Regions from separate parts of the Homo sapiens genome. Here regions 2, 3, 4 and 5 are each linked to region 1. The links are contacts of gene promoters, found by promoter capture Hi-C in blood cells and fetal thymus (Javierre and others, 2016). All regions are on one chromosome and are shown on one strand. Each heading gives the region's core, a stretch centred on a gene start or on the middle of the fragment in contact. The rest is flanking DNA. Distances are from core to core; before and after follow the strand shown. Region 1 holds the start of CAPSL (calcyphosine like). Region 2 overlaps PRLR (prolactin receptor). Region 3 overlaps PRLR (prolactin receptor). Region 4 overlaps PRLR (prolactin receptor). Region 5 has its middle 14 kb from the start of PRLR.

Evidence for each region. Contacts are between HindIII fragments. The CHiCAGO score rates a contact against its expected background, and 5 or more counts as called.
Region 2: a fragment that was not itself captured here is called in contact with the fragment with the promoter of CAPSL in region 1 in 1 of 17 cell types (total CD4 T cells); the score reaches 5.0 in total CD4 T cells.
Region 3: a fragment that was not itself captured here is called in contact with the fragment with the promoter of CAPSL in region 1 in 7 of 17 cell types (total B cells, total CD4 T cells, naive CD4 T cells and 4 more); the score reaches 6.3 in total B cells.
Region 4: a contact is called between a fragment that was not itself captured here and the fragment with the promoter of CAPSL in region 1, in 2 of 17 cell types (erythroblasts and endothelial precursors). The highest score is 6.5, in erythroblasts.
Region 5: a fragment that was not itself captured here is called in contact with the fragment with the promoter of CAPSL in region 1 in 2 of 17 cell types (M2 macrophages and M1 macrophages); the score reaches 6.2 in M2 macrophages.

The regions. Positions count from the first base shown.
Region 1 is chr5:35,935,431-35,941,249 of GRCh38, reverse strand. CAPSL (calcyphosine like) reads left to right here and starts at 2,628. Exons shown (of 5, transcript NM_001042625.2): 1 at 2,628-2,709. It overlaps CAPSL-DT (CAPSL divergent transcript), which reads right to left and starts at 2,449. Exons shown (of 2, transcript NR_104630.1): 1 at 2,326-2,449; 2 at 1,257-1,527. The HindIII fragment of the contact is 5,426 bases long and covers 2,259-5,819 here.
Region 2 is chr5:35,129,549-35,135,367 of GRCh38, reverse strand. The region is part of intron 1 of PRLR (prolactin receptor); the gene reads left to right. Among named protein-coding and RNA genes, the nearest start is that of AGXT2, 85 kb to the right of the region's middle. The HindIII fragment of the contact is 6,322 bases long and covers 1-5,774 here.
Region 3 is chr5:35,148,282-35,154,100 of GRCh38, reverse strand. All of the region lies in intron 1 of PRLR (prolactin receptor), which reads left to right. Among named protein-coding and RNA genes, the nearest start is that of PRLR, 79 kb to the left of the region's middle. The HindIII fragment of the contact is 2,678 bases long and covers 1,906-4,583 here.
Region 4 is chr5:35,183,964-35,189,782 of GRCh38, reverse strand. The region is part of intron 1 of PRLR (prolactin receptor); the gene reads left to right. Among named protein-coding and RNA genes, the nearest start is that of PRLR, 44 kb to the left of the region's middle. The HindIII fragment of the contact is 2,962 bases long and covers 1,381-4,342 here.
Region 5 is chr5:35,241,954-35,247,772 of GRCh38, reverse strand. No RefSeq gene overlaps it. Among named protein-coding and RNA genes, the nearest start is that of PRLR, 14 kb to the right of the region's middle. The HindIII fragment of the contact is 1,275 bases long and covers 2,550-3,824 here.

The DNA.
Region 1 (5,819 bases), core at 1,379-3,878:
CAGTCTCCCTAAGCCTTTAGATACCTTCCTCTTCAGTGTCCCAAGGTAATTCTGGTATTTCAGCTTCATTTAGCGTAGGCCACCCTTTGTTTCATCCTTAACTCAACCAAACCCATCGAGCTGCAACTCTATATTGAGAATTTGTGCTTTGTGGGCCTGTATCAATAAATTCACCTTGAGTCAACTTTATGTTCCTTCTACCATTATTTCACACTATTAACTTACATTCTCACATGTATTCACCAGATTTCTGTCTGTATAAATTGAAAAAATACGCATTACTTTTGGAATGTAGTATGTCTCCCATTGGTTCGCAATTTTAATCTCTCTTTCAAGCCTGTTGGGACTAGAGTCTTATTTATAGATATAGATATAGATAGATATAGATATAGATAGATATAGATATAGATATAGATATAGATGATATAGTTCTACAAGCCAAGAGGTTTGGTGGAAGTAGGTTCTGAGGATAATCAGCAGTGTCTTCCAGTTAAAATACCTCAGAGGTGCTAGTACACTTTCCTTTGAAAAATCAGGATGAACCTTCTCAGACATGAATAGCAGGGTTGCTCCTACTGGCAAAGAAGATGCAGGAGAATTTAGAGGTTAAGTGTCCTCAGCTTCATCAGGATCTACCCTACAGGTTTCATTCCGATTTTCAGAATCTCATTCCTTCCTAATCAATTCCCTCAGTTTAGCAGAAGATACTTTGCCTGGTTGGGAATTCAATTTGCACTGTAATTCTGCCACTCTCAGGATGAGACTCCAGATTTGATTTTCTGAAACCTCAGGCTGATGACAATGGGAGATAAGTACGTTCCTCCAGGAAGACATAGAAGGTTTCAGATCATTTATGTGGAGCTTGAACTTGGAATTTCAAGCCCTGAGTTCATCATTTTTCTTTACTTTGTCTACCACAGTTACAAGCAGTCATCCTCATTACATTTATTAGTTTGACTAAAATATTTTAAGCTATCATGATTACCTAGAGATTTGCCATTTATGAATATTTGATTAGGAATCCAGTAGTAATATTTTACAAATCTTTTTACCGTATTACACCATAGACTATCATTGTCTTCTTTACCACTGGAAAGAGTACTTATGCCTTAAAATATAATCAATATTTTATATTGATTGTCAGAAACCCAATACCACAAACCCAGATCCAGTTTTTTGAACTGGTAAAACCCTTGGAATTACACCAGTTGCTAGCAGTGGAAACAAGCAAAAGCATTGCTTAAGTACTCCAGAGATTTTGTTCTTTTTACTTTATTTGACACAACCTGGAGGCAGACTATTGAGGGCTTGCACGGTGGCTCCATCATGCTGTCCGTTGTCCCAATTTTCCTGTTTCTTTTTTATCTTTTCTTAAATTATTGCACCAAACTTACTCTCCAGTAGGTGGCTTTCAAGAAATACTTCATATTTAAATGCCCATGCCCTCATATTTGCTTCTGCATTCACAGATGAAATTAAGTTTCTTCTTAAAAGTTTCAAATGCGTGATATCTTGTGGGTTAAACCACTGAAAAGAAAACATTAGACATCTGAGGTTGCCCTGGAAGAACCACAGTTCTAATTGCTTAATTCTGGGACAATTCTTCAGACAATTCAGATAAAAGGATGAAATAGCTACTATGTATACTCCCTGCAGATATAGCAAAGGACCCAAGCCCTTGTCAAATCCATGAAAGAACTTGCCTAGTAGTCTGCAGAGCTGGGTGCCTGGCATCTATTCCGTTTTGTGAGTTCTTATACTGCAAGGATGTTGCACACAGCCAGGATTATGTTATATACAGAGATGTGTGTGTGTGTGTGTGTGTGTGTGTGTGTGTGTGTGTGTGTGTGTGTCAGAGAGAGAGAGAGAAAGAGAGAGGTGTAAGGTCTGAATCACCACTAATTATACCTGCCTGCTCCTGAAAGCAGGACGTGCAGGAGTGGGAATGACAAGGATAGGGTGGATGTCATAGATACACAATGAAAGAGAGCATAGTGTAGATATTTTCCTCCAAATAAGCCACTAGATTTCTTCTTATCTGGCAAAGTAACTGCTAGGGAACATGTGAAAAACATAAGTAAAAAGAAACAAAAAGAGAAAAGAAGAGAAGAAACCAAGGATGAAAACAGCAGAAATGACATCCTCTGCAAATGCAGAGAAGGAGGGAGAACCTTGAATCACCTATAATTACCCCTGCCTGCTCCCAAGAGTTGTGGTTTTAAGTATCACCTGGCAATGAGGCACCCTAGCAGTAAGCTTTCTGGGGACTACAGAAGGACAGGAAGGTGCTGCCTAAAAGAAAGAAGACAATGTGCTGAATACTACCTTACAAAACATGGGAGACAAGTTTTGATGCTGTTCTAGAAACCAAACCATTGCCAGCAAAACTTCTGGCTGGCTTCTCTCCCAGTGCAAATGGCTTGAGCTTTCACAGTCACTGAGATTTCCTAGGCAACAGGAGTGTAAACTTGAGAAAAGGCAGAACCAGAGTAGAGATTGACAGTGAGCTGAGCCAATCAGGCTGTGAATCTGCAGCAGTGATCCCAGGTCCTCCAATTAATACTAAGAGAGTGGACCAGGGCCCCTGAGGAAGACAGGTAAGAGGGAGGAGGCTAAGGTGGCTTGGGAGGGACCAGTTTTCCTAGATGCAGGAGACAGCGTCCATAGTTTCAGTTCGAAGCAACTGGTGGCAAAAGGTTAGCATTTAAGGTAAATCAATGTTTTTATCTATTCTATGATTTAATGTTTTTTTTTTTCTTGGTATGTCTTAGCTGAGAAAAGAAGACAGTAGATGTTACTCTCTAAAAAGAAAATCTAAAAGTCTTTTGAGAGTTCTTGGACTAGAGAAGCCATCACTAGGCTGTCAGTGCAAGAGGAAAGAGCTTGGTACTGGGAAAGATTTTTGTAATCTTTGCAAAAAAAATGCTTAGATAAAAATGCACAAAAATAAATTTCATTCAGTAAAGGGGAAGGAAGTAAACATTACTGAGCAGTCATTAGGTACTAGGTATTTGAGTGTGAAGGGTTTGGGTGAATTGCTCTAACGATCCTGATGACCACTGATAAAACTGAGCTTCAGGGAGGTTCAGCATTTCCAAGTCACAAAGCAATAAAACATTTCAACTTTCATTCAGACCTTGCTTTGTCTGATACTTAAACTTATGCTATTTCTGCTATACACTGACAACTGAGAATCAGAATAAAAATCAGGATGCTTATTAAAGTGTACATACATGGCTTGTTCAAAATTATATCAAATAGTTGATTTGATTCATCAGAGACTTGAGGGGGTCCTTTACGTTCTCATTAAAGGACAACACCAATGACCCAGGCAGCCATCTCTATTGCCTTCAGTCTGGGGAGTATTTAAACCATATTAAGTAGATGAAATTCTTACCTGTTTTTTTTTTTTGACTTATTTTTTCCTCAAATCCTACAACCACAAAAATCTATTTTGTTATTGAAAGTTTTAAATATTGAGATTTGAATTTCAGGCATACATTTGTATTTATATTCTGATAAAAATTACCCAATAGCAATGACAATGATAAATTCTAATAGCAATAAAATAGCCTCCTGCTAAGCCCTGATGATATGGTGATAGTAAATGCAAAGGATACAGCTCTACCTCGTAAGGACCTTATAGTCTGTCTAGCAGGGCAAGTAATTCGAAAACGAATTACATTGTCTTGCAATGTGAATGCTATTTGGACTTCACCACATGATCATGGAAGGATGGGTGGGACTTCTCTGGGCCAACAGGAAAAAGAAGGTGTACCTGCAAGTGTGACTACATGTACAAAGGCACAGAGATACAGAATGCTATGGTGTGTTTGGGGAATGTGAGTGAGTAGAGATGCAGGATAGATTTTGAACGGATGGAGAATTACTAGAAATGGCTGGAGACATAGGAAAGGCCAATGCATGAATTCAATGCTAAGAACTTTCATTTTACCTGTATGCAATGGGGGACCATCAAAGGGTCTTAAACTATATCATGAAGTTCATGTTTTCATTTTCTAAAGATTGCTCAGTCTTTTGAAAGACAAAGTACAGAGGGCAAAGCTAGGGGCAGGAAACCAACTAGGAGACATTTGCAATGGTGGAAATGAGAAGTGACCATGTCCTAGGCTGAGTCAGTATCCATGGCAATGGAGATGAGGGAATGGAAATGCGGGATGTGTCAAGGTAGTGAAACTCTATAGGACTTAGCTGCTATTTGGATGTAAAGGGTTAGGAAGAGTCTAGGATAATGGTCAGTTAATGACCCAGGTAAATGGTATTGCTGTTTCCTGAAGCAAAGAGTAAGGAAGATAGGTAATGAATTTGGCTCTGGAACATTAAACTGAAAGTGTCTGTAGGTCATCCAAGTGCACATGTTTTGTGAGAAATCTGGCTCCAGAGAGTGCCTACATTGGAATAAAGATTTGTTAGTCATCATTGTATCAGGGGATATGACTGAGATTGCCATAAGATAGTGGAATAGTGAGAAGAGAAAGATAACTGAAGCCTGAGAAACAGCACTTAAGAAGCAGGTGAAGACAAGGAAGAAACAAAATAGGACAGATCCAAGAGGGAGGAGGAGAGACAGGGAGTTAGATTTATAGCCATTGAGAGAAAGGGTGTTAAAAAGGAAGAATGACCAATAGTCAACTAGTTGGAGAAGTGAACTAAGGGCTAATGACTGTTGAAGTTGGCAATCAGGTTAGCAATGACTTATTGAAGAGTATATTTGTTGGAATGACAGGGTGAAGACCATATTGAAATGGACCGAAGTATGAATGGGGCATGAGAAAGTAGAAAATCTGGAAATTCTTTAAAATAGTTTGACTTTGAGGGGTGATAGCTAGAGGGAGTCCAGGACTGAGGGACCACAGCGGATTCATGAACTAAAAGAAGGAGCTGCTGGAGAGGAGGAAAAGGGCATAACTGATGGCTGAGAATCTTAGAGGGGTAGGCCTCTGTGTTGCAGGTAGAGAGGGCATCCTTAGATGGGAGGAAGTTCAGCAATCTCTTGGAGGAGGGAGGAGGGAGGATGAAGTCAGGATGCCCTTAGAGCGCTATACTTTTATAGATTTGGAGGAGGATGATGTGAATTTGTTCATAACTGGTGGTTCCATTTTTTTCTGGGTCTTTCAAGGCAAGGTCTGGAGTGGCAAAAGTTTGGATTAGCCTCTGAGGAGACTGGAATAAGAACCTGACCAACATCATATAAAAGTTGAGTTGTGTGTTGCAGAAGGCCTAGCTGTGGTTAAAGAATAAATACAGTGACACCTGTCCATGCTGGCATGTGGGTTTATTCAGCTGCACTTCAGTCTGCCGTTAAGTACATGGAACATGGGCAAATTGAACCAAGTTAGCTATTATTCTGAGATGGTGGGAGGTTGAAAAATGAGGGTCAAGAAGGGAGGCACTGGTACCAGATGGTCAGAAAGATGCGCAGAGTGTGTAAAATGGATAAGAAAGGAAGTAGATCCAGAAGGGAGAATGAGGTAGGTAATGGCTGGGGTGAAAATGTAGGGCCAAAAGTCTGGAGGTACCATAAGGTCAGAAGCAAGTTGGAATAATGGAACTGAACACTGCAGATAAAGTCAATCTTGAATTTTGAACTTTCAGTCTGGGCACCGTGGCTCATGTCTGTAATCTCAGCATTTTGGAAGGCCAAGGTGGGAGGATTGCTTGAGCTTAGGAGTTCAAGACCAGCCTGGGCAACATAGCAAGATCCTGTCTCTACTAAAAATAAGAAAAAATTAGTTGGGTATTGTGGTGTGCACCTGTAGTCCTAGCTACTCGGGAGGTTTCGGTGGGAGGATCACTTG
Region 2 (5,819 bases), core at 1,364-3,863, 810 kb after region 1:
GGAGAGGCCGCGAGGACAAGACAGTGGGACATGCGTGTGCTGGGGAAGTCGAGAAGCAGGACAGGAGGCAGGTCTGAGAGATCTGGTTTGTGTCTTGTGCCCTGGTTCTCTCTGCATTCCTTCTCTGTCTCTTTTTCCCTTCCTCATGCCTTTTCCTTAGCTGATTTCCCTAGGACAGAATTATTTTCTTTTTCGGACTGAATGATAAAGAAGTATTTGTTTCCTAAGTCTTCATTTCAAAAGCAACAGGATAGAACTCTCTAAGAAAAAAAAAAAACACAAATCTCTAAATGACATTAAATTACATTTTTATTTATGTAGCCTTGAATGGATTGTTCTACTTTCAGTCAGTAGATTTAAAAGGGGAAAAAAAACATGTTCCTCAGTCCAATGTTATAGATGGCTTAGATGACTGGGCTGCGTTACACCAGCACCAGGAAATATCTAGAGCAGTGGTTCTCAAACTTTGCTCCACATTAGAATTTTAACCCTCAGGCGGCACCCCACGCCATTAAATCAGAACATCTAGGGATGGGAGCCAAACAGCCGTAGTTTTTAAAGTTTCTCAGATGATTCCAATGTGCATCACTGGAGACTCACTGTCTAGGAGGTGATTTTAATAAAGCCCTGATCCTTGCTTGCTTTCTTGCCACTTTACTTTTCCACCAGTAGAATGTAACAAAAGACACCTTTTATTTTTCAGTTAATTAAATTAAATCCCAGTTCATTGAGGTTGTGCTCTAATTTCATGCCAGAAGGCAACCAGCCGGGTAGTTGCTTACTTCAGTCAAAACAACAGACCAGCATTTTGGCATCGTGTAGTCAAGCAATGTTTTTATCCACTGATGAGTGGTTGTTAGTTTAATCTTCAACTTTGTAACTTGGTGTTTAAATTTATCCAAACACAACTTTGGACCCTGGAGATATCCGGACTTATTTACTGCCCACCAACCCCCTCCCCCACTCCCCGCCCTTATTCACCAGAGTGACCAGAAAGCAATATGATCTTCACAGCGCCAGATCTTGCTGTGATAATCCAAGGAAAGAGGAGCCATCAAGCCACTCAAGCAACATCTCAGCTGCTCAGTAAATCTTTCAAGAGCTCACCCAAGTCCCAATCTCAGCTTCCTGATTTCTTTTCCTCTTTATATGTGAAGGGTTTTGTTGTTTGTTGTTTATTTTTTTTATTTTCATAGGTTTTTGGGGAACAGATGGTGTTTGGTTACCTAAGTTCTTTAGTGGTGATTTGTGAGATTTTGGTGCACCCATCACCCGAGCAGTATACATTAAACCCAATTTGTAGTCTTTTATCCCTCACCCCCTTCCCAACCTTTCCCCAAGTCCCCAGAGTCCATTGTATCATTCTTATGCCTTTGCATCCTCATCGTTTAGCTCCCACTTATGAGTGAGAGCATACAATGTTTGGTTTTCCATTTGTTGTTCATTTTTTAATAAACATGGTTGAAAAGACTAGGCTATAGTAGGTCAGTAGGGCCTGTTTCTGAGTGTGGTCTGTTTTGCCAGCACATTCTCATGACCACTTGGCAAAAATGAGACTGTGACATTTTTTTGCTCCCAACAGATGTATTTTTGGTAGCCCACAGGTTCTTCATTTGTTTGTTTACAGTCTTTAAGGAGAGAAAACATGCTGTGAGGAAGGGATCAGATTGAAAACTGCTTAATCTGATGGGAAAAGCCTGAAACACAACTTATTGATGGTCTTCAAAACTATGACAGGTTAGAAGGAAGAACATTCAAGCTAGTTGGTCTCTATTTCCATGGAGGAAGTGAGCTTAAAGTGCAGTTAATTGGGAGTATAGTGAGCCAGAGACAATAACTTTGGAATTAAATAACAAATTTGGCTGCTAAGAAAGTCTATGGCATCTCCATTCCTAAAGAATCAGTTTGCTGTGGAATGGGAGTCAGAAATGGGTGGGTTACAATTCTGCTTTGGTCTCTGACTCACCAGGTGTTACATGGCTTTTCAGGGCCTGTGTTAGTCAACATTCCCCAGAGAAGCAGAACCAATGGGATATATATAGGTATACATGAGAGGAGATTTATTATGGAAATTGGCTCACACGATTATGGAGGCAAGAAGTCCTATTATGTGCCGTCTGCAAGCTGGAGCCCCAGGAAAGCCAGTGGTGTAATTCAGTCTTATTCTGAAGGCCTGAGAACCAGGAGATCTGATAGTGTAGCTCCCACTCCACGGCCAAAGCCTGAGAACAAGAGAGAGGCCTGGTATAAGTCTGAGAGTCTAAAGCCCTAAGAACCAGGGGTCTGAAGTCCAAGGGCAGGAATAGAGGGATGTCCCAGCTCAAGGAAGGAAAATTTTCACCCCTTCCATGTTTTTGTTCTATTCAGGCCCACAGTAGATTAGATAAAGCCCACCCACATTGGTGAGGGTGGACATTCTTTACTCAGTCTATGGATTCAATACCAAGTGTACTGGGTGTTTCTCCCAGAAGCACCCTCAGAGACACATCAGAAATAATATTTTATCAGCTATCTGGGCATCCCTTAACCCAGTCAAGTTGACACAAAATTAGCCATCACAGGGTGTCAGCATCCTCATCTATCAAATGAGAAGTTGAGCTGGATAATCCCCAAAGTCCCTCATTGCATACGAATGTCCTATGATATTTAACAATAGGACATGTAGCCTTCTGCCTTGAGAAATTTAGGTACTAACAGAAATTGTTTCCCTGAGGTCCCTTCAACTTCAACAATTTAGAGTAATTCACCAATGTGTTTCCTATTTTGAATAGGACTAATGTGTTTCCTATTTTGAATTGCAAAAAATATAAACATATCCATATTTGATACCAAGAAATTAGTAATTCTGTTGGATGTGAAAAGAACACGGGTTACATAAGAATATGGTCATAATTGCTAGAGATATATACTGAAATAGGTAGGAGTAAAATAACATGATGTCTGGGATTTTTTTAAATAAAATAATATATATCCAGATTTCACAAGATTTCCTTTGGGCTGGAAAGGTTTCTGAATATAGTGCCTGTGTTCTAGAAAGAGGGGTCAGGAGCCTAGAGTATGCAGATGTTGATGGTATTGAGTGTTCTGTACACAGAACCAAGAGACTAGAGACTTTAGAGACCACAAAATGCTTTTCCTAAAGACCTAGAACATGAAGGTTTAATTTATTTCCCTTTTTCTCCTCCATGTGTTTTGGATAGGTTGGTAAGTGGAAATCAATTACCCCTGAATAAAATAGAAACCCTGAGAGAGATAAGTGACTTTTCTGGGGATACATGCTAATGACAACATCAAAGCCAGAGTGAGGATTGAAGGGTGAGGTACTATGACTACCTCCCTCTACTCCTCCTTCCCCTCCTGCTGGGGAAATGCCAAAGGTATAAGTATCCTTTTGGCACCATTTGTCCTCCAGGGTTTCTGTGTCTGTCCTGTATCTCCTTATTCATTCTTAAAACTCTTTCTAGTGGTCAGAGCTCTCCTTTAAAGAAAGAATAACAAGACATCATAGCAGTGAACTCAGAGCACTATCACTGGCTTTTCACAGGACATGAGCAACTTTCTCACTGGAGGGGTCAGGGATGCTTGTATGGTAGGTGCTCCTGACTGTGATAACTTCACTTGAGCCTACCCTGAGAATGACCCTGTGTGGCAGATGCACCCAAATATATGTTCAGAGTTCCAAGCTAAGGAATTGGAAGTGGCCATCCCAGAGATTCATTCCTTATCTATGAGGAACATCTGAACCCCAGCCCGTCCCAGGGAATGTGGGCCATACAGGGGATCAGCATCCTTTGTTTGGGGTTAAATGAAGGTTGCCAGGCTGAGGTTGCTAGGGGGAGGGTGTTAAGTGAAAATGTTTTATAAACTGCATGCCTTTTGCCAGCGATTGTGGTTCTTCTTACCAGCCCACTGCCACTGGACCAGCAGTTCTCCTGTCCAGCCCGCCACCACTAGACCCTCTCCCCTGTATGTAAACCCCCAGTAAAACCCCAGTGTCTCATTTTCTAGCTCTGGATCTCTTCTTCAGCCTCTTGAACCTAGTGCCATCCCCTTTGGAGTTGATAGGGATTCAGCACATCACTGCTACACTAGAATAAAACATGTGCTGTGTCCACATTAGGCCAACAAAATCCCATACCATCCAACTTTTTTCACTGATTAAAAATACTATTAAATTTTAAATTGGTTCATATAAGAAGTTGCAGAAAAGGTGTTTGTAGGCAAATCCAGCTGACTCACATATAAATCATCTGTATTAGTTTATTAGGGCTGACATAACAAAGCACCACAACTAGATGGCTTACAACAACAAAAATGTATTTTCCGACACTTCTAGAGGCAACAAGTGTGGAATCAAGGTTTCAGCAGGGCCATGCTCCCTCTGAGATGCTGGGTGGAGTCCTCCCTTGCCTCACCCTAGCCTCTTGTGGTGGCAGCACTCCTTGGCATTCCTTGGCTTGTAGCTGCATCACTCCGATCTCTGCCGCTGTTTTCCAAGGTGTCCTCCCCGTGTGTCTCTTCTCTGTCTTATAAAAACATCCGTCCTATTGGATTAAGGGCCCACCCCACTCCATTATTACTTCATCTTAACCAATTACATTTGCAAGGACCCTATTTCCAAATGAGGTCACATTCTAAGGTACTGGAGGACTTCAGCGTCTCTTTCGGGAGGATGCAATTCAACCCATAACACCATCCAAACAAATGACATTATGAGAAGGTTTCCATTTTTGTCCTCTGTTGTGGTTAGATTCCTGATTTTACATAATTTAGAGCTAAAAATTTACTTCCTGTCTGAAAAGTGATTTTTGACAAGGATTGAGATCACAACTCGAGTTCTGTGGCCATTGCTTGCCCTTTCAGAATCACTTGTCCCATCCTGTGTGCCATGTTCCAAAGAAGCCAGGTGAGCAGATGCTGGCGACACAGGGATGACAGCATAGACTACAGCTTTAAGTGAAAGGGACTCATGACTCAACCCTGTAGCTTGCCCTTGCTATGGTTGCCCCACCCCTCCCAACTCCTTATTCCTCCTGCTTTGCTGAAACCACAGCTGCCTTGAATCGAGCCATTTTGATTCTGCCGCAAATGAGCTGTAAACCAAATCAAGCCACATCAAACAAATCCAACCACCATCAAAAGCAAGTTAGTCAATTTTTGTTTTCTTTGCAATGGGGAGGGGTCATAAAAGCCTTGTATATCCCAGGGCAAATATTAATCTGTCTGAAGAGTCAGCTTGCCAACGGGTAATCAGCAAACAGGTTGGTGCTCATGAGAGCTGCACAGACTGGTAGTTGAGGATATTCGGTGCCAGGAGCAAACCCCAGCAGGCACCCTTGGTAAATCTGGCAGGCTCTGTGACTTCACCCTCTGCATTCGGAAGCAAGCATTCAAACTTTGACAGGCTTGCGACATGCCCAGGGTAAGTCACCTGGCTTCTTGGATTCTGGACAGATATCCTTGTGCCACAAGCTCACTTCTCTTTCTCTGCTTCAGGACTAGGTCCTTCAAGGGGATAGCAGAGAAAGCATGTTTGCAGAATCCATGCCTTGTGCCCACTCCCACCCTACTGCTTGGCACTTTTAGGGAAAGTGGGAAGGAGTAAAGTTACTCTGTCACTGGCAGAGGAGGGACAGTAAAGGGAAGAAGAAAATGGGAGAAATGAGAAATAGGTACCCAATGAGTAAAAAAAAAAAAATTGATTACAGTGCTTAAAACCTATCACTACAGTGGTGATGTTTCTGAATGATAGAGAGGGTGGATTTGGCAAAGCTTCTGGAATCTTTTCAGACTTGAGGTCCACCTCCTGTCTTGAGACC
Region 3 (5,819 bases), core at 1,995-4,494, 790 kb after region 1:
TTAAACTTTGGAATCCCATTTTGGTAAGCTGCTGTTATTTGAAGGTGTTGACGTATCCTCTGGGATCTGAGAAAATTATTATCAAAACCAATTAAAGGAATCATCTATTTTGTGCGATTGGTTTTGAAATCTGTCCAGTGGGCTCTTTCTGGAGGCAAGGATCCTGGTTACCAAGAGACTTTGCTGCAAATAAGGCAAACTGGGATGACATTTGGGGTTGGGATCCTTCTCAGGACCAAATGGGCACCCATCATCTTTGGGTCTAGAAGACTGCACTGGCATAAAGCAGCTGACTTCCTGTAGCCTTGCAGAAATAACAATGGGGTGTGTGTGTGTGTGTGTAGTGTGTGTAGTGTGTGCAGTGTGTGTGTGTGTGTGTGTGTACAATGGTGGGGAACAGTTGGCAGAGCAATGAGCAAGAAATGGGAAACGACACTCAGAAAAGCAGCAACCTACCCTGAGCAAATCAAAGAATTTCTTAGAATGCAACACTAGCTGTGTGTATGAATAATTGGCTTGCAAATCACTTCCTCTATTTGCTTGTTATATAATACCAATCATTTCAGTGTCACTGACGAAAGCCCAGAAGGGAATTACCACTTACCAGCCAGTTTTACATATGGCTTTTGTGAGGAATAAGGCCTTGAGGATGAGGGTCTAAATCTCTGGCCCACAGATCTGGACAGGCAGATTTCAAGCTGATCATTACATATCTTTTGAGAGAGACAATCCCAGACGAATTGGCCTGGGGGGCAACATGAGAAGGCAAGACAAAAGAACATTGTAAAGACTTCACCTAGAATCCAAATTGTAGTTCTCTCAGCAAGTTATCAAGAAGCAAATTAACTGCTAGATTTTGTAATCCAAAGATTATTTAATCTGTTTAGCTTTGTGTTGGAAGGATCGCTACTAATCATCTCTTTTATTAAAATATGATAATGATAGCCATCCTTTATTAAGTGCTTATGATATACCAGGCACTTTGTATACATGATTTGCCTTATTCAGAATAACCCTGAAGGATCAATATTATTGTCTCCATATCAAAGAGAGGGAAACTAAGGCATACAAAAGTTATTTGCTCAAGGTCAAACAGCATGGTAAGAGGAACTGCAATTTCATTCCAGGTCTTACGGATACCAAGTCCCATGCCTGCCAGCTTGCACCTGTTAAGTCATGTGATACTTAGGAAATGTACACATCACCCCAGTGCAGAGGCCTTTATCCACTTCCCTTCATTTTGCCTGGATTGTTGCTGTGAGTGAGAAATAAATGACATGAAATGATCATGTATATCACTGTCTTCAGAGGATGGTTAGTTCCTTGCTCTGGATTGTTTTTCTCTTTTGTTGGATATTTATTTTGACTTCTCTGCAAACTAAAAATATGCATGCTCTAGTTTCTCTTGGGTACATAACTCCCAATATATTGTGAAGAATGAAACTGGCCTACAAAGTTTAATTAAGAAGCAGTGAACTAGAGCTTACTTAGACAATACTTGTACTAGTGTGGGTTCATGTTGTCCATTTGTCTTTAGAGGTGTAGAACCTTGAAAGTCAGCTAATTAATCACTATTACTGTTGTGTACAGTATTGGCAATCTCCTATGCTAAAATTTTTTGTGATGATTTGAAGGTGGGAGGGGCAATATTTACTAAGTCTCTCAACCTACATGGCAATATCTGAAACCTGCTTATAATGTAGTAATAGCTTAGGCACCACCTATTTCTGAAACATAAATCATCCCACAATATAAGCCTCCCAGTTTTATTCATGCGTCTTACCATGTATAAATATCTTTTAATATACCATTTATTTCCTTGAGGGACAGTTATTTGTAGCATAAATCTGCCTGGATAAAATAGTAAAAATTGCTATGCCCCAGTGAATTCAGTTTACAAAAGCTTACATACGTGAATGAGACATTGGAAATGTGGTTTATAGTTAAGGAGAATGGATCACGCGGATTATACCTGTATAACTTCCCTAGAAGGTTGATACCACTAAGATATTAACACCAAAAAACTGAAAATAGTATTTTTCATCTTACTTTGTTATGTACCCTTTGTGAATTTCTGAAAAACACCTTTCTATTATGATGGGATAAATTACGGTGTGGTAACAAACAAGCCCAACCTGTTTGTTCCGGTCAACTAGTTGCTTTATAACAAACCACCCCAAAATTTGTTTAAAACAGCTATCATTTGATTGTGCTCACAAGTTCTGTGAGTTAGGAAATAAGACACAACACAGTGGTCTTATGTCTGTTGTGTAATGTCTGGGTTCTCAGCTGTGAACACTCAAATGGCTTGGAAACTGAAATCAGCTGGAGGCTTCCTTATTCATATGTTTGGTGCCTGGCTGGGATGACTCAGATTAGTTGGGGCTCTTGACAAAAGCACCTATACATGAACCCTCTCAGGAGCCTTGGCTCTATGGTGGCTGGATTCTGAGAGGGAGCATGCAGAGAAAAGAATTCCAAGACAATGGATGCTCTAAGAGAAGCTACTTGGCCTTTTCTGATCTAGTCTTGGTGGTCATGCAGCATCACTTTTGCCACCCAGATCAAAGGGGAAGAGGAGACAGACTCCACCTGTGGATGGGAGAGTGTCAAATTCACACAGAAGTTGTATGCAAGCTATTCTTGGTCATCTTGCTCATCTATGAAATATACCCTCCTCCATGCATTGACTTACAACAAGGGTTTATTTCTTGCTCAAAGTCTGCTGTGAATCTAGGCAATTCTCCAGAGCAGCTGTTCTTTTGTTGGCTTAGCAATCCAAGCTGCTGCTTCCATCTTACAGCTTTTCCATATCAACTCATGATTCCACAACCATTGCTACGAGGCAAGAGTAGTATGGAGGATCACACACTACTCTTAGAAACCACCAGCTGGAAGGGAATTATATCACTCCTGCTTACATTTGATGGCTCACATAGCCATGCCCAAATTCAGTAGAGCAAGCATGGCCCTCCTGTGTACCCAGAAAGGAAGGAGAGCTAGAAATATTGGTAAATAGCAATATTGTTTACCATAGCCTCAGAGATATTGCCTCGTGGTGAAACCCTATAATTCCCCTCAATTCTGATTTTTGCCCTTTATCAAATCATTTTATTCATTCCTTCATCCATCCAACAAAGATGTTTTATATGCCTACTATTAGCAACTATCAGTAGCTTGTTCCTGGAGGGAATGCAGCTGCTCCCCGCCAAAACACCATATAATTCACTCTAGAAAACTAAAATTTCAGATGCTTTGTCATTGATTATTGTGGGGAGAAAATGTCTCTTTCAGCTCCGACTTTGTCCTGTCTCCTCTAAGGCATGTGAAATAAGATTTTTTTTTCCTATTCTTACCTCCTATGGTCCCATTTTATGGTTTTCATGCACTACTGTCAGTCAAATATTTATCATATGTCTTTCAATATCTTTCCAATATTTATCATATATCTTTCCCCTTGTAGGCCTTAACTTTATGACCCACTATTAAGCACGCAGCTGTATTTCCAGAAAATGTAGATGGTTTAATTCAATACTGCATGGCAATTAACTGTCTTATAAATTAAATCATTTTAATCCATCTTAGAGTTATCATGCATAATTAGTCTGACAGCACAATTCTGTTTGTTGTTGTTTTAAAGGAAATTTAGATATCAAGGCTGCAAAGAATGCGTAAGTCTAGGCAGAAGGCTCTTATTTTCCAAAAGCAGAGCCCATCGTTGCATTTCAACAATGACCGCAACAAAAACCATCAGGAGCTGTTTGGGGCCTGTTTGTGCTTTAGTCTTCAATTAGAAAAAAATGTGTTTCTGATGGAAAACCATAGAACAATCCTCACTCTGTGGTAAGAAAGAATAAAGAGAAAGAAGTGGGCTCTATGATAGACTGAAGCAAGAATACTATTTTAGACTAGGTAGTGGCCGGGCGTGGTGGCTCACGCCTGTAATCCTAGCACTTTGAGAGGCCAAGGTGGGCGTATCACCTGAGGTTGGGAGTTCGAGACCAGCCTGACCAACATGGAGAAACCCTGTCTCTACTAAAAATACAAAATTAGCTGGGCGTCGTGGCGCATGCCTGTAATCCCAGCTACTCAGGCGCACTGGCTCACGCCTGTACTTGGGAGGCTGAGGCAGGAGAATCGCTTGAGCCCAGGAGGCAGAGGTTGCAGTGAGCTGAGATTGCGCCATTGCACTCCAGCCTGGGCAACAAGAGTGAAACTCTGTCTCAGAAAAAAAAAAAAGACTAGGTAGTTATCTTCCTGGGTGGTTTTGGCTATGTAGAAAATCACTCTTACTCTCGATTAATTTATGTACCAAATCATGCTTTGAAATATCCCACTGAAAAGGTCTAAATTATTGATATCTTGGGTCAAGTTCTGACTTGAAGGCAAATAGTAGGAAATACAATGGCATTTATTGGAGGCACACACTACAAATATTGTAGTATCTTTAAGATGTGTTTAAATAAACAAGTAGATGATAAAACTATAAATTAGAGTCACTAAGACTCTCTAGCAGAGACCCTTACCTTTTGAAGTGCACCTTAAAATGGCAACAACACTTATCAGAAATTCCATAAGAAGCTTAGTTGTCTGCTACTCTATTGCAGTATCATATGTGTGAGCTGCATGAAAACTGGATATTATTATTATCAAAGGTTATTATCAAATGGAGCACAATTTTATTAATAACAATATTATTATTATCAAAGGTTTTAATTTGCTAAAACTATACAGCTTCCTTAGGTCTTCCAAACTAGGTCAGCCAGTTAACCCTCAGATCTGGAGTACCACATTTGGCTGAGTCAGAAGAAATAAAGATGCTCTCAAAACCACAAACAAAACTGATAATAGACATTCTGATAACTTTAACTCCCACAGTAATAAATCTTGGGTCTTTTAAAGTTGGTCAGATGTACACAGAGCTGCTTACTAATTATACTAAAATAGTTACTAAGCAACTCGACATTTTGATTTCCAAGAATTTCAGATAAAGATTATGAACTTTATTTATTTGGTGCTTTAGAGTCCAAGGCACTATTTTACAGCCTAAAGCTGTATTTCTCAAGGCCATCTTCTTGCATTCTTCTAAAACTTAAGAGGGATCATCTGTCCTCAAAAATATAAGAAATTCTGTAAATGTGTATTTTTGTGTATATATATATTTGATATTTAAAATTCTGTATCTATATATACTTCCAAGACCCCTTAGAACTTACACGGTACCTGTAATTTGTTTCTTTTTTATACTTAAGTACAAGTAATGTTAGTGATACATTTAAAACTAGGAATTACCTTGTTTGCAATATCAAATTTTTGTAAAATATTGAGTTAAAAAAGTCTCCTAAAATTAAGATTTGAACTATTATAAATGGCTTCAAAGATCCTTTCGTTTCTAAGAGAAGGAAGGAATTAGGATTTATTGTGCATGTATTTCATACCAGGTGCTCATCTACAGTTATTGAATCCTTGCAACAATCGTATCAGGTAAACGCTGTTATTCTTCTCTTACAGATGAAAAATCTAAACCTTCTAAAATGAAAGTTTGTCCAAGTTAACATGACCAATTAGGAGAGCTTGGATTCCAACCCAAATCTGTTCAGTATCAAAGCTCACTCTCTTCCATCCTTGCCCCTTCTCAGCTCACATAGTAGCTTTCAGAAAACAGTAGCTATCTACCCCAGATAAAATTAAGCCTTTTTTTCCTTAGGAGAGGCTAGAAACTGAATCTTCTACCCCCTTTATTGGCATCACACAGGCACAAAAATCACCAATTCTCAAAAACCCTATACTCCCAAGTTCAACACAAATTGAATGGTTGG
Region 4 (5,819 bases), core at 1,612-4,111, 750 kb after region 1:
TTTTGTAGATAACGAACCTAAGGCTGAAGAGGTCAGGGGCTTGCACCCAGTCATAGAGCTAAATGAGGTGCAAAGAACCTAGAACTCCGGCGTCTTGACTCCCACCTGGGACACATTTTATCAGTAATAGTGAACTCTCATCTGTTGATAGTGTTAGAATTCTCACATTTACTCCCCATAACAACTTTCTTTTTTTTTTTTTTAAACGGAGTTTCTCTCTGTCACCCAGGCTGGAGTGCAGTGGCACGATCTCAGCTCACTACAACCTCTGCCTCCCGGGTTCAAGCTATTCTTCAGCCTCAGCCTCCCTAGTAGCTGGGAATACAGGCATGCACCATGGCGCCTGGTTAATTTTTGTATTTTTAGTAAGGATGGGGTTTTGCCATGTTGGCCAGACTGGTCTCAAACTCCTGACCTCAAGTGGTCCACGTGCCTCAACCTCCCAAAGTGCTGGGATCACAGGTGTAAGCCACCATGCCTGACCAGCACCCTTCTGAAGTAGGTGCTTTCAGAAATCTGAAAGCATAGTGTCGGTTAGCAGGGTTGGATCTCTTCTGGTACTGTGAGGAAGAATCTGTGCCATGGCTGTCTGCTAGCTTCTGGTGGTGTGCTGGTCATCCTTAGTGTTACTTGGCTTGCAGAAGCACCATCGATCTCTGCTTTCATCGTTGTGTGGTGCTGCCCCTGCATGCATGTATCTGTGTCCAAATTTCCCCTTTTTATAAGAGCACCAATCATATTGAAATAGGGCTCACCCTCATAATCTCATCTCAACTAATTATATCTGCAATAACCCTACTTCCAAAAAACACCACGTTCTGAGGTCCTGGGTGTTGGGATTTCAACGTATGAATTTGGGGTGGGAGGGCACAATTCAACCCAAACATTACCTAATAAAGTTTTCAACAGTAAGTAAATGAGTTAACTCCTGGAAAGCATTTAAAACAGTGTCTGACATTCAGAAAGCTCTCAGTAAACGTTACATTATGCTGGGTATAAATAAAAAGCTCCCAGGACAGTGGACGGCATTGAGATTCCACCGGTTTGTATTAGTGTGGCCTCGCCAGTAATTTACATCTTCTATCTTTTTTGGTTGGTCAGGGCTTAAGCCATACCAGGTAAATATTTTGAATAATACTCCTAGCTAAAAGGTGCAAGGAGTAGATACTGTGGGTTCTGATTTTTCTTTCCCGTTCTCCAAGCTGTGTACACAGAACCATGCAAGTCGCCCCAACCAGGGAAAAACAACTGCCATTTCTTTTAAAGGGGAACCAATGAAGGTCTTGTCCTGATGAGCTCACAAAAGCAAACTTCTCCATGTCTGTCGCTCACTCAGTGGGCTGAAGCAGAGCCTTCACGCTAAGCTTTGGAGACAAAGCTTCTTAGAGAATGTGCAACGTGGGCTGATCCCAGGCTGCCCAAGGAGCAGCTGACGAGTGTAAAAGTGTTTGCTCACCGATTAGAATCAGTCCTTTAAAAAATAAATAAGGTATGTTGATCTTTTATGTGATGATTAAACAAATCAGATGGCCCAAAATGAATTCCAGGTAAAGAGGAATAAAATATCAGAAGGCAAGCTGCTGAAATTAGCAAGAGCTGAACTCGAAAAGCCCGACTTTCCAGGCACGGCTAGTTTCTTCCTAGCAAGTTCCTGACGGAGCTGGGTGGCTGCCCCAGGTGACTGCAGTAGCAGGAGATTAAGGAGACAGCACCTGCCTGACAAAAAAGGTTGCTGACACAATAGGCCAAAGTTAAATTGAGCTGCCAAGGGAAAATGATTGGGGATATGCAGTTAACAGTTGAGGGAGATACCAGAAGAATTTGTGTCCACAGAGAGATTTTGATGGGGCTGACTTTGCCGCTGACCGACTCACCTCAGAAGCATGGACTCCCTTACCTCCAAGTCCAAGGCAATGGGGCTCTCTCCCTCTTGCCTCTTGAATTCCTGCATCTCATTTCACTGGGTAAACAGGGAGGCTCCTGTGCTCCAGCAGGAAAACCCTGGACTGGGAAGCAGGATGTCTACTCTGATCCTGCTGCCCCAAAGCTATGCGGCTTCAGACAAGTGGTTTGACCTTTCTGGGCTCAGTTTCCTTGATTTTCACTATTATTTGAAGGGCTTGGGGTCATGGAAATCATGAACTCTTCACACTGAGAGGAATCTTCATAATCCATTTTGTAGATAAGGAACCTAAGGCTGAAGAGGTCAGGGGCTTGCACCCAGCCATAGAGCTAAATGAGGGGCAAAGAACCTAGAACTCTGGCGTCTTGACTCCCACCTGGGACACATTTTATCAGTAATAGTGAGCTCTCATCTGTTGATAGTGTTAGAATTCTCACATTTACTCCCCATAACAACCTTCTTCTTCTTTTTTTTTTTTTTAAACGGAGTTTCTCTCTGTCACCCAGGCTGGAGTGCAGTGGCGTGATCTCGGCTCACTACAACCTCTGCCTCCAGGGTTCAAGCTATTCTTCAGCCTCAGCCTCCCTAGTAGCTGGGAATACAGGCATGCACCATGAAGCCTGGTTAATTTTTGTATTTTTAGTAAAGATGGGGTTTCACCATGTTGGCCAGACTGGTCTCAAACTCCTGACCTCAAGTGGTCCACGTGCCTCAACCTCCCAAAGTGCTGGGATCACAGGTGTAAGCCACCATGCCTGACCAGCACCCTTCTGAAGTAGGCACTCTTATACCCATTTTACTGATCAGGAGACCGGCTTGCCCAGGATCCTGCAGCTACTGAATAGAGGGGCCAGAACTTTGCTGGTTTGGTGCGCTTCCTGGTACACACCAGCTGCCTCCAATCTCCCTTTGATAATCCTAGCCACATGCCACCGCGGGTGCTCTAGTGTAGGCTGGCACCAACCCCACCCAGCAAGAGCCAGGATCTGCTTCTTGAGGGCAGGCAGGTTTATCACACAGCGGGGTGCAGAAGAGTAGTATTCATCTTCCTAGTGTAACCACTTATAACTACTTTTCAGTGAATCAAATAGATTTTTAAGCAAGAACATTGTAAAAATCTGCTTAATCAAGGGTGGAGCAAAATGAGTTAGCCAGGGCCACCCTAGCTCAGATGGGGTGGTAGCTGCCTCTGCTCCACAATGAGGTATTTACACTTGCTCCCCACCCTCTCCTTTGCCCCATTATCTTTTAGTTAAAGGGCCAGGTGCACCAGAACACAGGTGCCTTGAGTAGCACCAGCACCTCTCAGGGTCATAGGGAAGAGCTGTTTCCTCTGGGTAAACTGAGGCCTCAATAAGGCATAAATGCCTTCTCTGGGTGAAGAAGATATGCCCTCTAAGATCTCTCCAGGGTGAATCTAGAATAAGTTGTAGTCTAGATGGCTTGGCAGCACTAGCCAGTGTGACAGTAAGTCTTGATGAACATCAGTCAGCGTCATGCTGAGGGACAACCTCGAGGAGAGGGAATGTGTACTTGTTACAACAGCACACCCAATAGAAATAGCATGTAAGCTACAAATGTAACTTTATATTTTCTAGCAAAAAAAAATTTTTTTAAAGAAACCAGTGCAATTCATTTTAATAGATCTTATTTGTTTCAATATATCCCAAATATTGTCCTTTCAATGTGTGATAATATAGTTATTAGTGAGATATTTTCCATTCCCTTTTTCATACAAAGTCTTTGATACTCAGTGTGTATTTCACTCTGACAGTGCACCTCAATGTGGTGCAATAGGCGAGGGTCTATGTGGTACATCCCGTGCCCAGTGTGCACTTAAAGGCTGTAGATCCATATATGGCGACTGTCTCCTAGATAGATGAGCCCAGCAAGGCTCAGTGGGTGTTTTGAGGTCCATGGTCTCTCAGGTCCCGTTCCACCCCGACATTCGACGAATCAGAGAACACTAATATGGTTGGGAACACTTTTATCTTGCTCCCCATAGTCTGAACAGAAAGAGACGCCACAGAATACAATCACGACTCTCTCCCTCCTACGGACTCCCTCCCCACAAGCAATCAATGGGCTGGTCTCAGACAAAGACACCTAGTCAAGGCTGGTGAAACCTGCTCTATTTCCTAGTAGGCCTCCACCTGTAATTCTCAGCAGTTTGTGTGTATAGATAGAATTCCTGCCTTCTACTAATGTGACTGTTCCTGCTCAGAGATCTAGAGTTAATTATTAGCAAATTCACAGTGAACCAGAGCTAGGTCTTGCTGTAAGGCTCCTGTGTTTTTTAGAAGTACGTTGCCATGGGGATTTTTGTCCCCACTGGGTTCCTCCTCAGGACCCCAGACAGATAGATACACAAACCCTGGGCCCATAATTTTAGTTAGAAAAGGCCCAAGCCTAGAACCTCAGGGAACTCATTTGGAAGCTTTTTTTTTTTAGGAAACTTACCTTTCCTATTTGACATCTCAATCAAACAGGTGTTTGGGGAGAATAAAAGCATACTACCTTAGAAGGGACTGGGGTCATCTGGCCAGACTTGTGGAATAAAGAGAATTTCATTCCTTGTATAAAATAACTCTAAATAATGGTAAGCTCTTAGGAGACTTGATCTACTGGCTACATATACCCACTATGAAATTAACACATTCTGGAATTTAGATGGAAGAATATGGAAATTGGTCCTTCTCAGTGTATGGACGAAGCATCAGAAATGAAGAGAAGGGCCAAGCCTAGAGAGCAAAACTAAAGACTCACTGGTCTGTGGGCTTCCTGCCCAAGGAGAGCTGAAAGCTAAAGGATGCTTCACAATGTCCTACAAGTTGTTTTTCTAAAGTCCTTCCAGCGGTTGAAACTGTGTTTATGCAAAACAAAACTTTCCTTTGTTGCTATAATCTAGAGGTGGACTTTGGCTTAAGTCATGCCAAAATATTATCATTCTAAACCAGTAACACCTATATTTGTTGAGCATTTACTATATGTGTGGCACTATGCTAAACTTAACTACCCCTTTTCCTCATGTGTAACAGTCAGGTGACTTCACAGCTGCCTTGTGGATACTTGTGTTATTTGAAAGATTGCATAAACACATGTAAAATGCTTAGAAGTCTACCACCTCATCTTACCTACAGCTTTGGTGAGTCCCTGCTTTGGCCAAGTAGAATCATTCCCTGTGAGGAGGGGAAGAGGATAAGAAACAGGCAGAGTTGACCTTACAGGTAGACACAACAGGCGAGGGTCCATGTGGTGCAATGGATCCCATGCACATGCCTGATTCAGTCATTCTAGTTGAGTAGGATTGTCTGGTTGGTTGTTATTATTTTGTTTTTTGTTTGTTTCTTTCTTTTGTTTTATAAGATGGAGTCTCACTCTGTCGCCTAGGCTGGAGTGCAGTGGCTCAATCTCGGCTCACTGCTGCAACCTCTTCCTCCCGGGATCAAGCAATTCTCCTGCCTCAGCCTACCGAGTAGCTGGGGCTACAGGGGCATGCCACCACACCTGGCTAATGTTTTGTATTTTAGTAGAAATGGGGTTTCACCGTGTTGCCCAGGCTGGTCTCAAACTCCTGAGCTCAGGCAATCCTCCCACCTCAGCCTCCCAGAGTGCTAGGATTACAGACGTGAGCCACCGTGCCTGGCCAGTTTTTATCTTGAAAGCTTAAGGGTCTCCCACTTAAATTCAAATACTCTTCTGAGGATAACCTTTTAATCAGCCAACTATCATGAATCTCAATTATCAGGAATTCCAGTTATTCCAATTATCAGGAATTCTTTATATCATCCCAGGAATCTAAAAGAGCAAGGTCTTATAGGTAAGGGCAAACTTTCTGATGCCTTGGAATTCAGACCCTAAGTAGAGATGGTCATTTGACATCTAGTCTGATCGACTGTAGAGTTACTTCTATACA
Region 5 (5,819 bases), core at 1,938-4,437, 690 kb after region 1:
ACTCATTAATGTGTTTCTCTCATTGGAAATGTCAAGGTAGAAATTAGCTTAAACCTCCCTGTTTCTACCGTATGGAGCAAAAGTTAGTTTCATGATTTCAGCCAATAAAGGAAGTCCACAGGTCTGGAAGAGGGCCTGAGAAGGGCCAGGAGGCGATGCAGGCCATGGTTTCTTTGGCAGGAACTGACAAGGCGCCCAGCCTGCCAAGTCTCCAGGCAGCTGCTCTGCTACTCTCAGCCCTGCTGGTGGCTTTTCTTCCTCCATAAGGAAGCAATTTTTCCAGCACACTGTATGTTAGCCAGAGAAAGTCTACCTTCCCATTAAATTTTTTTAAAAAGAAAGAACAGTGGATGAAAGGTTAATTCCCTAGCTTTTGTCTTATCGTTTTCAGTTTCTAGTTAGGTCACCAGCAATGCTAATGGTTTATTCAGAGGGTGTGAGTGACAAGGTTTTATTGCCTCCGAAAGCACTTCTACTCCCTCTGCCTCCTGTCACCCACTGCCCACTACCCCACCCCAACCACATGCTAAGGAACAAGGGAAATTCTGGGGATGGATGGCTGGAATAAAAGAAGATGGGACTGAGGGCCCCTGTATGTGGTGACCCGAGTCTGCATTCCTGACCTAAAAAGAGGCCAACCAAAAGGAGCAAGGGCAGCAGGCTGCAGCTAAATAAGAAAGATAAACACATTTGTTCCTCTGCTCTTCCTCCTCCCCTCCCCTTCTTTCTTCCTCTCCCCTCCTTTTGCCTCCCTTCCCCTCCCCTTCCCCCATTTCCTTCTTTCTCTACTCATGAACATTGAAGATTAATGGATTTGTAATACCGGAGAGAAAGGAGCATTTGAGGAGTATATATTCACTTCACAAACGGCCCATTCTGGCCCTTTTGGTCCCTATGAACTGGGTTTCCAAGGTGTCTCTGATTCCTTTTTTGCCTAAAGAAGACCCTAACCCTAGCCCCAGCCCACCTTGAGATGGCATTAAATGGAGCTCCCCTGTGCCTCTGGTCCTGGCTGGAAATGTGTTCCACAAAACCCCCAAACATTTCCTTGTGACATGAATGAGCAGAACACTGCTGTGACTTCATGGACTTTATTATTACCAGCAACTCCTCCTTTGGCTTCAGAAAGGACTGCCGGTTTACAGAGCAAACCTGCACAACACCCTGTAGATGGCAATATAGGAGGCATTGTTCTCTCAGAAGCATGGCCCTGAGGCTGGAAAATGCCTTCCACCTGTTTTGTTTTTCTGTGTAGGAAGTGTAAGAGAAGGGAGCAAATGACAAGCAAGAAGCGTGGCTGGCTCTGAGCAGGTTCTTGCTCTTAATCTGAATTTTAAAAGTGGAATTAAACAATAATAAAGATAATGCTTTAGAAAATCTCTTTAATGGGACATGACCCCATCATGTCAATTTTTTTTTAATGACTGTATTGAGGGCAGTGCAAGCTAGGCAAGCCCTGGGAAGACTGTGTTTTGTGCTCAGATGCAGATAGCGAAGCCAGCTCAACTCTGATGCACAGAACACGGGCACACTGGCAAGCAGATGCTATGACTGAAGCCATATTGGTAGCCAGGCCAATCTCTCAGCCACCCATAGAACAGCAGATACTCACGGGTTTGCAACTTGGCTTTTTGGATGTATACAAAGGATCTGCTTTCCTTTGGCTCAGGAGACCTAACTGGAGGCCTCTATTCCATAAAATAAATTTCCAATGTCTGTCATTTGCTAGACAGCCAGAAGAGCTATGATGTCATGAGGCCTGTTTTGCCTGGGCCGTTTTGTGACCTGGGAACAGCCTTCACTTCTCCGGGCCTTGATCTCCTTGTCTCTAAAAGGAGCAAATTGATCAATGGTGGTCAAGTATCACAACCTAGAGTGAAAAACACATTTTACTTTAGGACTCAAAATAGATATAACATGTATATTTTTATTTAATTTAATAATTATAATATGCATATTGGCCAGGCACGGTGGCTCACACCTGTAATCCCAGCACTTTGGGAGGCCAAGGCGGGCAGATCATGAGGTCAGGAGATTGAGACCATCCTGGCCAACATGGTGAAACTCCGTCTCTACTAAAAATACAAAAAATTAGCTGGGCATGGTGGCAGGCGCCTGTAGTCCCAGCTACTCAGGAGGCTGACGCAGGAGAATGGCGTGAACCCGGAGGGTGGAGCTTTCAGTGAGCCGAAATCGCGCCACTGCAATCCAGCCTGGGCAATAGAATGAGACTCTGACTCAAAAAAAAGAAAAATGCATATTAAGTAACTGCAGTGAAATATTTTTTACAATAGTATTACCCTTACCACCTGCGGTATACTCTGATTTTTTTATGTTTCTCTATCTGTTTAATGCTGGTCAGGAGCCATTAAATTAATTTTATGACCTGTTGGATGGATCACAACTCACAGCTTAAAATCTCTCATTTACATCTTTCATTCATTCATTCATTCATTCAGCAAACATTTATTAAACACCAACATGTACCAGGTCACCATTCTAAGTTCAGGAGTGAGCTAAATGGGCAAAAATATCTGTCTCATAAAGCTTACATTCTGGAAGTATGTATATATGATATAAATATGTCATATATATACACACACATATATAGATATAAATAGTAAGCTATATAGTATATCAGATGATATAGCAGATATTGTCAGTGCTCCACCCACATCCTTGGACCTCAGCATTCTGGTACACTCCCTGATATTCCAGGGATCAGCATCTACATCAGGTCTTAGGTCTTTTTCCAAAGTTACAGAAGGCTTATTTGCCCACCTTGAGGAGAAGTGCCATGAAATCAATACTCCACTCCCAAAGAGCCCACAATCTATGACTAATGGAAGCTGGCATGTAAATATCCCAGCTCCTTCTCCATTTGGGTGGAATAACTATAAGGCATCTCCTGAATAAACCACTTACACTTGAAATCCTGGCACAAGATCTACTTCTGGGGAAACTAAAACTGTGAAAGAAGGTGATGAGTGCTATGGCATACAGTAATAGAGAAAGAGGACAGTGAGGGCCATGGGAGGTCATTTTAAATGGGGAGGTCAGGGAAGTCATCACTGAGAGGAAACAAGTGATATTTGAAAAAGGACCTGAAGGAGGTAAGAAAAGAGACGTGTGGATATGAGGGAGAGGAATGTTCCAGGCAACAAGAAGAGCCAGTGCAAGGTTCAGAGGCAAGAGTAACTAGACCAGTGCTATGGACTGAATGTTTGCATCCTCCCAAAATTCTTATGTTGAAGTCCTAATCCCAAAGGTGATGGTATTTGGAGGTTGGTTCTTTGTGTAGTAATTAGGTTTACATGAGGTCATGAGGGCAGAGCCCCCATCATTGTATCAGTGTCTTTATAAGGAGATGAAGGATACCACAGATATCTCTTCCACATGAGGATCCAAGAAGGAAGCTGTCCGACCACACAGAGAGCCCTCACCTACAACATAACCATGCTGGCACCCTGATCTCACAGTCCCAGTCTCCAGAATTATGAGAAATCAATGTTTGTTGGTTAAGCCACTCATTCTATAGTATTCTGTAATAGCAGCCCAAAGTGACTATGAAAACCAGTGGTATAAGCAGGAAAAGATAGATTAGTGGGATAGAAGATGAGAGATATTTGATATTATGACTACACATTAGTGATTGAGGATTGCCACAGCTGGAAACCTGATTCACAAGTACATCTTGCCACTGAAAGTCAAGAAATGTGGTAATGGCAGGCAGAGAAACTGACAGAGATAGCAGTATGCATGCACTGTGTGTGAATATTTCCATAGCCTACCAACGCTTACCTGTGGTTTTATTAAACTAAGCTTTCTGTGTTAATTTCCTGGTTTTCCATTATTAACTAACTCTTATTGCTCCAAGGATATCCTAGCTTTTAGGTTTCCAACCATTTATTGATCTCACCCTTTTAACTTGCTGTTTCTAACATAATACAAGACTTTTGGCATCACTTTCCTCATCTGAAAGATAGCTCTACCAGCTCTGATCACAACTGACACCATCATGTCTGTTTGGAAAAGAAGTGAACTATTCCCCTTGCTGGGATCAGGACAGCAGTAAGAGTGGTAAGGAGACTGAGAAATAACTTTTAGGCTGTCACAGGGAGAAGAGGAATCTCTCTGCTTTTCTAGAGTCACATTTTAAAGAAGAGAATACCTTCTACGCTAATCCAAACAAAGAGCCTGTTTTGGCTTGAATTATTTCAGTTATGAAGACTCACTGTTTTGCAAAATGGTGATTTTCATTCCCAAGTTCCATTGATTATAGAATTTCTTCATTGTTTTGTCTTCTTCAATGTTTTACAGTTTTCAGTGTACAGATCTTTCACCTCTTTGGTTACATTTATTCTCAAGTATTTTTTGCTAGGCTATAGTAAACAAGATTGTTTCCTTGATTTATTTTTCAGATAATTCATTACTAATGTATAGAAACACTACGGATTATTTCCAGTATTTTGAATTAAACTTCAACGAACTTTCCAAGCAACTCAGAAGAAACATCTCTTTTGTGCAACAATCCTTTATACGACTGAAGAACACCAGCCTACTTTGCCTTCTTTTTTCTGCATCAGATGATCCTCAGGTCTACAGAATGTTCTGCATGTGATGAGATTCCAGCACTTGGACATCACTTAGATGATTGGCTTGTCAGCAACAGTATGAACCAGAAAGGTAAGAGCATGATTCATACAGTTCTAAGTGCTTTTAATGTCAATTACCTCATCTTACACTTGAAGCAGTCCTACGAAGTAGGTACATTTATGATTCCCATTTTACACTTAAGGACAATATAAAACACAAAGGTCAGTAATTTGTCTAAGACACATAACCAGTAAGTAGTGGAAGCAGACACTCAGTGGCTAGTCTGTCTGCAGCGCTCCTGCTACTCACTACCACTCCACTCTGCCACCTCTGCTCTAGCAAACCCATGGCTCGTTGGTGTCAGTCCAGACAAGACTCAGTCCTTCTGGGTCCCAGTCCAGTGCTTTTTTCCTCCATATCACATTATCTTGAGTGCAGATAAAATGTCCTTGGGAGAAAAGAGAGGGAGCTTAGGGAGAGAGAAGTAGGAGGAACAGAGTTCCCACATCTAAATCCCAGAAGAACTATTGAGCTTTTGCTTCTGTCACTAAAAATAACCTTCCCTATTTGTAAGTTCAGTTAGAAAAATAAACAGTGGCAAAGACATCAAAACAGTCTTACTCTAGAAAAGACTCTGGGATTCTCCCTAATTCCCACACCTCAGGCACCAGTGAAAACAAAGCTCAGTGAAGTCTTCACCTTGAAGCCAGAAGGAAGCAATCGCCTCCAGCCACAGGGTCTTGTCACCTGAGGCTGTTCAAATGGTGAAAATTCAGTGGTGAAAGCTTCATTTATTTATTGTTTTCCTTCTCAAACTCTTCCAAAATATCTAAGAGGAGAGAACACTTCTAAACTGATTTTATGGGGCCAGCATTACCCTTATACCAAAGCCAGATAAAATGATAAGAAAACTACAGGCTAATATCCCTGATGAATATAGATGAAAAAATCCTCAACAAAACACTAGTGAAACAAATTCAGCAGCATATTAAAAGGACCATACACCATGACCAAGTGAAATTTATCCCTGGGATGCAAGGATGGTACAACATTCACAAAGCAATGGATGTGATACACCACATTAACAGACTGAAGGATGAAAATCACATGATCATCTCAACAGATGCAGAAAAGGCATTTGACAAAATCCTTCACCCTTTCATAACAAAAAGTCTCAACAAACTAGGAATAGAAGAAAAACATCTCAACACAATAAAAGCCAT